Regions from separate parts of the Homo sapiens genome. Here region 1 is linked to region 2. The links are contacts of gene promoters, found by promoter capture Hi-C in blood cells and fetal thymus (Javierre and others, 2016). All regions are on one chromosome and are shown on one strand. Each heading gives the region's core, a stretch centred on a gene start or on the middle of the fragment in contact. The rest is flanking DNA. Distances are from core to core; before and after follow the strand shown.

Evidence for each region. Contacts are between HindIII fragments. The CHiCAGO score rates a contact against its expected background, and 5 or more counts as called.
Region 1: a fragment that was not itself captured here is called in contact with the fragment with the promoter of DNAJA1 in region 2 in 1 of 17 cell types (neutrophils); the score reaches 8.0 in neutrophils.

The regions. Positions count from the first base shown.
Region 1 is chr9:36,404,703-36,409,053 of GRCh38, reverse strand. It overlaps LOC124902152 (a long non-coding RNA gene), which reads left to right. Exons shown (of 2, transcript XR_007061475.1): 1 at 1-4,351. It also overlaps a transcript of RNF38 not described here. Among named protein-coding and RNA genes, the nearest start is that of RNF38, 6.6 kb to the right of the region's middle. The HindIII fragment of the contact is 7,166 bases long and covers 1-4,351 here.
Region 2 is chr9:33,022,765-33,026,522 of GRCh38, reverse strand. It overlaps DNAJA1 (DnaJ heat shock protein family (Hsp40) member A1), which reads right to left and starts at 1,250. Exons shown (of 9, transcript NM_001539.4): 1 at 1,140-1,250; 2 at 1-48. The coding sequence starts at 38. It also overlaps a transcript of APTX not described here. RefSeq lists enhancers at 600-669, 626-1,220, 1,198-1,492, 1,815-2,410 and silencers at 770-909, 1,190-1,339. The HindIII fragment of the contact is 3,848 bases long and covers 301-3,758 here.

The DNA.
Region 1 (4,351 bases), core at 1,454-3,953, 3.4 Mb before region 2:
CACCACACTCGGCTAATTTTTGTATTTTTAGTAGAGAGAGGGTTTTACCATGTTGGCCAGGCTGGCCTCGAACTCCTGACTTCAAGTGATCCGCTCCCTTCTGCCTCCCAAAGTGCTGGTATTACAGAGGTGAACCACCACACCCGGCCATGTGCATAACATCATTTATTTTCTTGAAGCACTTATGTAAGTATAACCCATTTAAGTCCTTATTTCACTGGCTTTTGGGATCACATTTTCCATTAATGCCCAATTCTTAATGATTTGAGCGCTTGCTTTTCTTAAATTCAGTTGAACAGTTTGTCTGGCTTTCCTCTCCAGGTATTTCTGGGACTTCCTGGGTAAACTGCTTGTCCTTCCAGCCAGTCCTTTGACCCATGGCCCATTGGTCACCAGCTTCCCTAAGGTGTTCTCACTGGTGTCACTTTGGCTCAAGTTTAGGCCCAGCTCCTAGATTATAGTTTGGGCCTAGTTCCTAGGCTATTAATATTTAATAAAGGATTTAACAGAAGGGCATCAGAACAAAGAGAACTTAAAGCTGCATATGAAATATGGCTTCACTAAAAGTATACTGGTCCAAGTTCTGCTCAGGGCTTCTCTCTTCCTGATGCTTGGCGTACTGCTGTCCATAGGGCTAGCCTATCTTTCCTCAGGGAGTACCCTGAAAACTACTGATTCCCCTCCAGGGTCAACTCCAAACTGTGATCAGTTAGCTTTGCTTTGAATAAAAATTGCCAGCCTTGGCAACATGGTGAAACCTAGTCTCTACAAAAAAAAAAAAAAAAAATTAAGTCTGTTGTGGTGGTGTATGCCTGTAGTCCCAGCTACTCAGCACTGAGGCGGGAGGATCACTTGAGCCCCCAGGAATTCAAGGGGGCAGTGAGCTGTGATCATGACACTGCACCTCAACCTGGGTGACAGGTTTCAAAAAATTAAAAAAATTGATGCTGCCTTTTAGGAGGCAGTGTAGCAATATATCTTGAAATTTTAAGAAAATTCACATACTGTTTGAACCAGCAATTCTACTTCTAGAAATGTACTTTTATGGATATATTTTCAAATGCTTGCCAAACTATATGTATGTACAAGAATATTAATAATAGCTTTGTAATAGCAAAACACTGAGAACAACCTAAATGTAATACAGGATTTAAAAAAAATACAGAGATGGTTCCTCCCTAACAAAGAAAGAATTGGCTTTGTTGAAAAGAATAACCTAGATCTGTATGTGGCTAACTTTTTTTTGTGCTCTGGGTCTCCATTGGATTTGGTAAAAACTGTAGTGCCAGAATATGATTGCCCCTGAGATGAAGCTGCTGGAGCATACAGTTGAGCTCAAGGTGCTGTCTGTTCTCCGGAACAGAACAAGCAAGAGTGTGGCTTCAAAGAGTATAGGTTACAGCAGGCCATCTAGTGGAGGCCTGTTGCCTCAGGGTCAGCTCCTGCCTGGTTACCCTGTTCTAGAGGTTGAATATGCTGTGATGTGCAGTGTATGCTTTATTTGTGCCCTTGGGTCTCCACTTCTGATTGGTATAGGTCTCTGTTTTTCTGCTTCTGACTTGGCTGTCCTAGGCACTTAGGTTTCTTCATTTGAACTCCTTCCTGGCCGATGCCTTTTCACTGTCCACCTGCTTTAGCCCCTTCACACCTTCACTACCATGAGCTTGCCCTCTGTCATTCCAGCTACCATGGTTCAGTCCAAGTCATCTCTCACCTGCACTGTGGAAACAGCCACCTGACTAACTCTTCACCTCAAAGCTGGATAAGTGGCTATATAATATGGGAGGCTTTCAGTGGACTTCGATTTGGGTGAGCCTTTGCTGCCCTCTTCTGGTCTCTAGCTGCTATAGCCGGCAGCTGCTACTAATTAACTTTTTCTACTTTGATTTGTGTTAACATTTCTGGGTGAAACTGCTTATGCTGATTGTTTTGCAGTAGTAGATCAAGTTGTAGCATGCTTGTAGATACTGCGTAGGCTAAATGCTGTTCAGCCAATATGCCTTTTCCCTCAGTGCAGCTTTATCTTTTGTTTTTTGGGTTTTTTTTGTATTTTTGGTGGAGATGGGGTTTCATCATGCTGTCCAGGCTAATCTCAAACTCCTGAGCTCAAATGATCTGCCCGCCTTGGCCTCTCAAAGTGCTGGGATTACAGGCGTGAGCCACCGCGCCCGGCCCAGTGCAGCTTTATGTTATTCAGTCCTTTTAGCTGGTTTTGGAGGAAGAAAGGAAACTTAGGGATGACAGCAAAGCTAGCTTCAGGGAAGATTTTGAAATTTATTTTTTCTGCATCCCTTTTCCTCTCTTTTCACTGCCCGCTTTCTGTTGTTCCTGTGCTTCATTTCTCCTTGGGAATTTACCAAGCGAGAAACGTAGAATCAGCCACTGCTGTGAAATATTTACATATCATTAACAGAACTATTTATTAAGCACATGGTATGTGCTAACCCCTTGCCAGATTTGGTAAGACTTAGTCCTTGGCTTCAAGAAGTTTACTATTTATTGGGCAGAAGTGTCAAGTAAATACAAAGTTGGAAGGCAGAATGATTAATGCTATTTTAGAACACACAGGAGAGGCCACTAACTCGGCAATAGAGATTGAGGTTGTTGGAGTGAGATTATAGTAGGGATACTTGGATGTGGATGTGATGGCAGAACAGTACTGACAGTGTTAACCAATGAGGAACTGCCTTCTCATTAGTAGAGGTCCAGAACTTCCAGCAGGTAAGCCATTCTTTACCCCAGCACCTCCTTTGACATTTCCTTCCATGTGAATGGTTCTTCAGCATTTGGACAAGTGGTTCTTTACCTGTAGCTGTTGAATCATGCCTTTCAATGCCTTAAAATAGGAGATGGTCCTCTTTCCATTTTTGTGCATTTTCCGTCATCCATTCTTCCCCCCAACATCGGTGTCAGTGATATACAAACAAAGCAGAACTGAGACTTGAGGAGCTTACAGTTTAACAGGAGGAAACAGATATTTGATAAACGCTGTAAGGTGTTATGATACAAGTGTGTAGAGGGATAAGGAGGACAGCCTGTAACCTCATAGTCAACTTTTTTGTAAAAAGATCCTTCAGATAACCATTATTTTAGATATTCCTTGATGTCTAGAAATGCAAAACTGGTCACAAAAATAAACTGTATATTTACCATTTGACAGACTATTAACTAGCACTTATTTAAATTTGTTTATGATTATTGTTTAGTGTGTTTTAAAATGTATTTGTAGCAACGGTACCCTTCAAATTCACAAGATTGGGAAATGGTTTTCTAGAAGCAGATAGTGAATTTCAGAATGAGATCTTTCTTATATATATATCCTAAGATTACAGTTGTTTTGCCTTAGTTAGAAATAAAGAAAAAACAGGACATCTAAGGAAATTTAACTCCAAGTCCAGTTAGCCAACCAGCAAATTTTCCCAAACATTTAAAGAAGGCGTTAACACCAGTCTTAAAGAAACACTTCTAGAGAATAGAAAGCAAGCCAGTACTCCCTGATTCATTTTCTGAAGCTAGCATAAGTCTTTGTAACAAAACTTGATAGGGACATTATAAACATGGAAAATTACAGGTAAACTCACTCAACACAGAAGCAAAAATTCTAAACAAACCAAATCAACCATTTAGAGCAATACAGTAAGCCTAAAATGGGCTGATTAGAAATGTGAATTCCTAACACCCCCAAACCAATCAAATTCACATATTAACAGAAAAGTCATATGATTAACTTGTAGATACAGAAGTTTTTCATAAAATCAAACATCCATTTATGAATTTTTTTTTTTAAGAGACAGAGTCTCTCTCTGTTGCCCAGGCTGCAGTGCAAAGGCACGATTTCAGCTCACTGCAACCTCCGCCTCCTGGGTTCAAGTGATTCTCCTGCCTCAGCATCCCAAGTAGCTAGGAGTACAGCCACGTGCCACCATGCCTGGCTAATTTTTTGTAGTTTTTAGTAGAGATGGCGTTTCACCATGTTGGCCAGGCTGGTCTCCTGACCTCAGGTGATCTGCCTACCTCGACCTCCTAAAGTGCTGGGATTGCAGGTGTGAGCCACTGCACCTGGCCCATGTATAAATTTTTAATATATTAGAAATGGCAGAGAACTCCTTTAATTTTCTAAAGGGGTCTTAAAAAAAAACAAAACTACAAACACCGTACTTAAATGTCGACAGTTTTTCAGTTGAGGTTTGGAATAAAACAAAGCTGTCTGGTTAGCACTGTACTAGAGGTCGTTGCCAGTGCACTAAGACAAGAAAATGAGTATATGTTGGAAAGAAAGAAATGGAACAGCCAGTATTTTCTGCCAAGTAGACAAGGATATAAACAGAATTGTTTGTATAGAAAACTCAAA
Region 2 (3,758 bases), core at 1-2,500:
ACCCCCAAAACATCGTAGTAAGTTGTTTCTTTCACCATCTTCTACTGCCTGAAATAAGAAAATGCAACTTTAACCGGCTTTCAACTGGTAGCTTTTAATAAAAAAGAGAGCTAAGGCCGAGCAATCTCTTTGCAAAATCCGATTATAAGAACACCACCTTCCCTAAATTTCACCAAAAAGGTAACAATTCCTGCGATAATTCAGCTATAAACTCGAACAGACAAAACAAATAATCATTATCGGGAAATAATCTGAGAGCCGCCTTCTAGCAGCTGGTTCCAATTTTCCTACACCAAAGCTTCCATACTAATATAACACAACTATTATCTGGATTCTTCCCGTTTGCCCTAGAGGCGGTGACAGTTGTAACCAAAAGAAGCACTGATATGTTCAGTCTACCGGTCATTACACTATCACTGTCTTTGGCAAATCTGATAAACTCCATATACTCTCCAGAAAAAGACGTCTGGGCACACAGTGGTGGGGGGGAGTGGTTTATAGAACAGGTTACTGGCTCCACACAGCAAGCCCTCCACCGCCCACGGCTTACAGCTTCTCCAGCCGAATCCCTCTCGCCCCTCAGGCTGGCAGAGTTTACCTGCCAGGTTTCCCCTTGCACTTGGCGCTGACCGATTTCCTTCCTTTCTCCCTCCCACCCTGGACCCAAGTGGCGGTGGGGAAAGCCCAGCCCTCAACAAACAAAGGGAGGGGAAACAGAGAAAGCGAAACCAAAAGCCGCAGTCTCCGCCCGGCTCCCCCCGCAGCCCCTCGCCCCTGCCTCCCTGTGCGCGTGCGCAGGGTCGCCAACCCCACTCCCCCCCCCCACCCCGAGCGAGCACGGACGGGGAGGGGGGCCGCGGGGGCGCGCACGGAGGGGCAGCCGAAGACAGTAGCTCCTTGGAGATCCCAGGCTGGGGAAGGAGGGAGGTCTAGGAAAGGTCTCGGGCCCATTCACTGTGCGTGCCGGGGATGGGTTGCCAGGGCACCACACCAGCCCTCCAAAAGGGAAATCGTGGGCCCAGGAACTGACAGCGGTCCTACCCACGCGGCCAACTGCCTCCCGACCGCGGCTCCATCGGTTTCCCGGCGCCAATGGCGCCAGCCAGGGGACTAGGGGCAGCGCGAGGGCTCAAACTCACCGGTGCGGGCTGAGGCCGGTGTGTGAGGGAGCGGGAAGGAGCGCCGAGCTGTGCGCAGCCGGGGTAGTTACCGCTCCTCCGCCTCTCACCGAGCGTTCTGGAAAGTTCCGCCCGGCGCGCCGCAGCCGTCCTCTTTTGTAGCCGAACCCGGGCGCGTCACCCGCCGGAAGTCCCGCCCTTCTCGGCCGCTGCCACCGCCCCGCCGTTACCTGGGCAACGGCGCGGGGGCGCACGGGTCGGGAGGAGCTGCGCCGAAAGGCCTTGTGGGTGTTGGTGCTAGCGCGGCTTCCCGGCGCTCGTGGAATCTTCTGGAGCCCTTTTCTCCACTCAGCGAGCCTGAGAGTGCGGAAGTCTCCGGCTGGTGGGGCATGGCCCAGGAGCACTGCAAGTCCTAGGGTTCCCAAACCTGTGGGGTGGCCGCCTGGGCCCGCGAGGGCGGGAAGGGCTCGAGTACAGTGACCCAGCGGGAGCTGTGTGTGAACGGGAAAGCTCTTGGAACAGTCTTGCCCCCCCCCCCCCCCCTCTTACGGGCGCCTCTTCTCTTTTTGGGAACGTGGCGAGCAAAAAATGCTTGAGCCAGGTGGGTCTAGTCCCCAGACCAATAGCATAGGCCTTGGGTCTTGCTGTTTTTCACGCGTGGTCCAAGGCGGCATAATTAATCAAATTGTGAAGTTGTTAAGGCTTTTTGTGCAAGTCCAGGCCCCTAGACACATGTTATCTGCCCTGGACCTCGCTGATTCGTGCAGATTGAGCTCAGTGTGTCTGGGACTGAGCTAAACAGTGAGACGTTTGGACCGTCTTTGATGTACAGAGGGCCGTGGACTCCTCTGGTCAGGTTTTCACCCAGTTTGGCTACAGAGTAGCCGCAAGAGTGTCTGACTAAAACAATTTGTTTAATTATTTGACCTCACTTTTAAATCCTACGGGTCAGGGAACCTGGATGTACAATCTGCAACGTAAGACCTCGGACTTGAAAATGGTACCACGGGGGCTTAATGGGAATTGGGGTCCGCTTCTTTATCCAGGGACACAGCAGGTATGTCAGTATCTAGCACCAAGAAAGATGGAGTTTGCCACGCTCGGTGGCTCACGTGTGTAATCCCAGCACTTTGGGACGCCAGCGTGGGCTGATTGCGTGAGCTCAGAAGTTTGATACCAGCCCAAGCAACATGGTGAAACCCCGTCTCGATTTAAAACAAAAACAGAACTGGAGATGCAGAGTTGAAAAGCCCCAGTTAGACTTTAGTGAGAAGCCAAACAAGTCAACAGACTGCCAGAGAAACCATGAGGTAGAAGTCAGTAGGGGAGAGCCTCCTATATTAACCTGATAGATCAGAGAGAATTTCTTTGGGAAAGTGGCAATTGAGCTGAGTTTTGAAAATGGGAGGAGAGCAGTGGACAAAGCACAGGGGAAGGCTATACTAAGGTGTGGAAGAATATGATGTTTTTAGGAAATTGCAACTAATTGGATATAGCCATAGCTAAGGGAGCTAGAATAGCCGGAGGTGAGGCTTCAAAGCTAGTTAGGGCATGCCTTTGTCTGTTGGTATATATGCTACGCTAAGAATTTTGAACTTTATCCTTGGAAGCATCCTCATGCTGCCTCTTCAGCCTTTTCTCTTTCATTAATTTTAACTGTGCATTCCAGTCACAGAACTATCCGCAGTTTCCCATATACGCCTTTTCACCTTTGTATGCTTTTGCATTGGCTGACAGACACCTGATTTTTTTCAATCTTAGGTGTTGCCTTCTCAAGTATCACCTCTGGTATAAAGTTTTTTGTTTAAACCAACCGTTAATAAACGTCTAATATTACCAGGCAGTGTACTAGGGCTTTGTAATACAAAAATCACGTAAGTCAGGCCGGGCGCCGTGCCTCACACCTGTAATCCCAGCACTTTGGGAGGCCAAGGTGGCGGATCACCTGAGATCCGGAGTTCTAGACCAGCCTGGCCAACTTGGTGAAACCCTTCTCTACTAAAAATAGAAACAATTAGCCAGGTATGGTGGCACGTGCCTGTAGTCCCACCTTCTCAGGAGGCTGTGGCAGGAGAATCGCTTGAACCTGGGAGGCGGAGGTTGCAGTGAGCAGAGATGGTGCCGCTATACTCCAGCCTGGTTGACAGAGCAAGACTCTGTCGAGTCTCAGAAAAAAAAAAAAATCACATAAGTCGTGGTCCCTGCCTTCAAGGAGCTCACAACATAGGGAACCAGAAACAAACAGTTGAGTGTTAAATGCTAATAAAGGAAGAGTAGGGGGTGCATGGTGGCTCAAGCCTGTAATCCCAGCACTTTGGGAGGCCAAGGCAGGCGGATCCCTTGAGTCCCGGAGTTTGAGACCAGCCTGAGCAACATAATAAGACCTCGTTTCTACAAAAATTAGAGTTAGTGTGGTGGTGTGGGCCTGTACTCCCAGCTACTTGGGAGGCTGAGGCAGGAGGATGGACCTGGGAGGTCAAGGCTGCAGTGAGTGGTGATTGCACCACTGAACCTCAGCCTGGACGACAGAGCAATACCCTGTCTAAAAACGAAACTAACAAAAAAGTTAACACTTTTAAGAAGCATTCTTACGTAAAATAAAATAAAAAAACTGGCAATAACTTTGTATGTGGTCTTCGT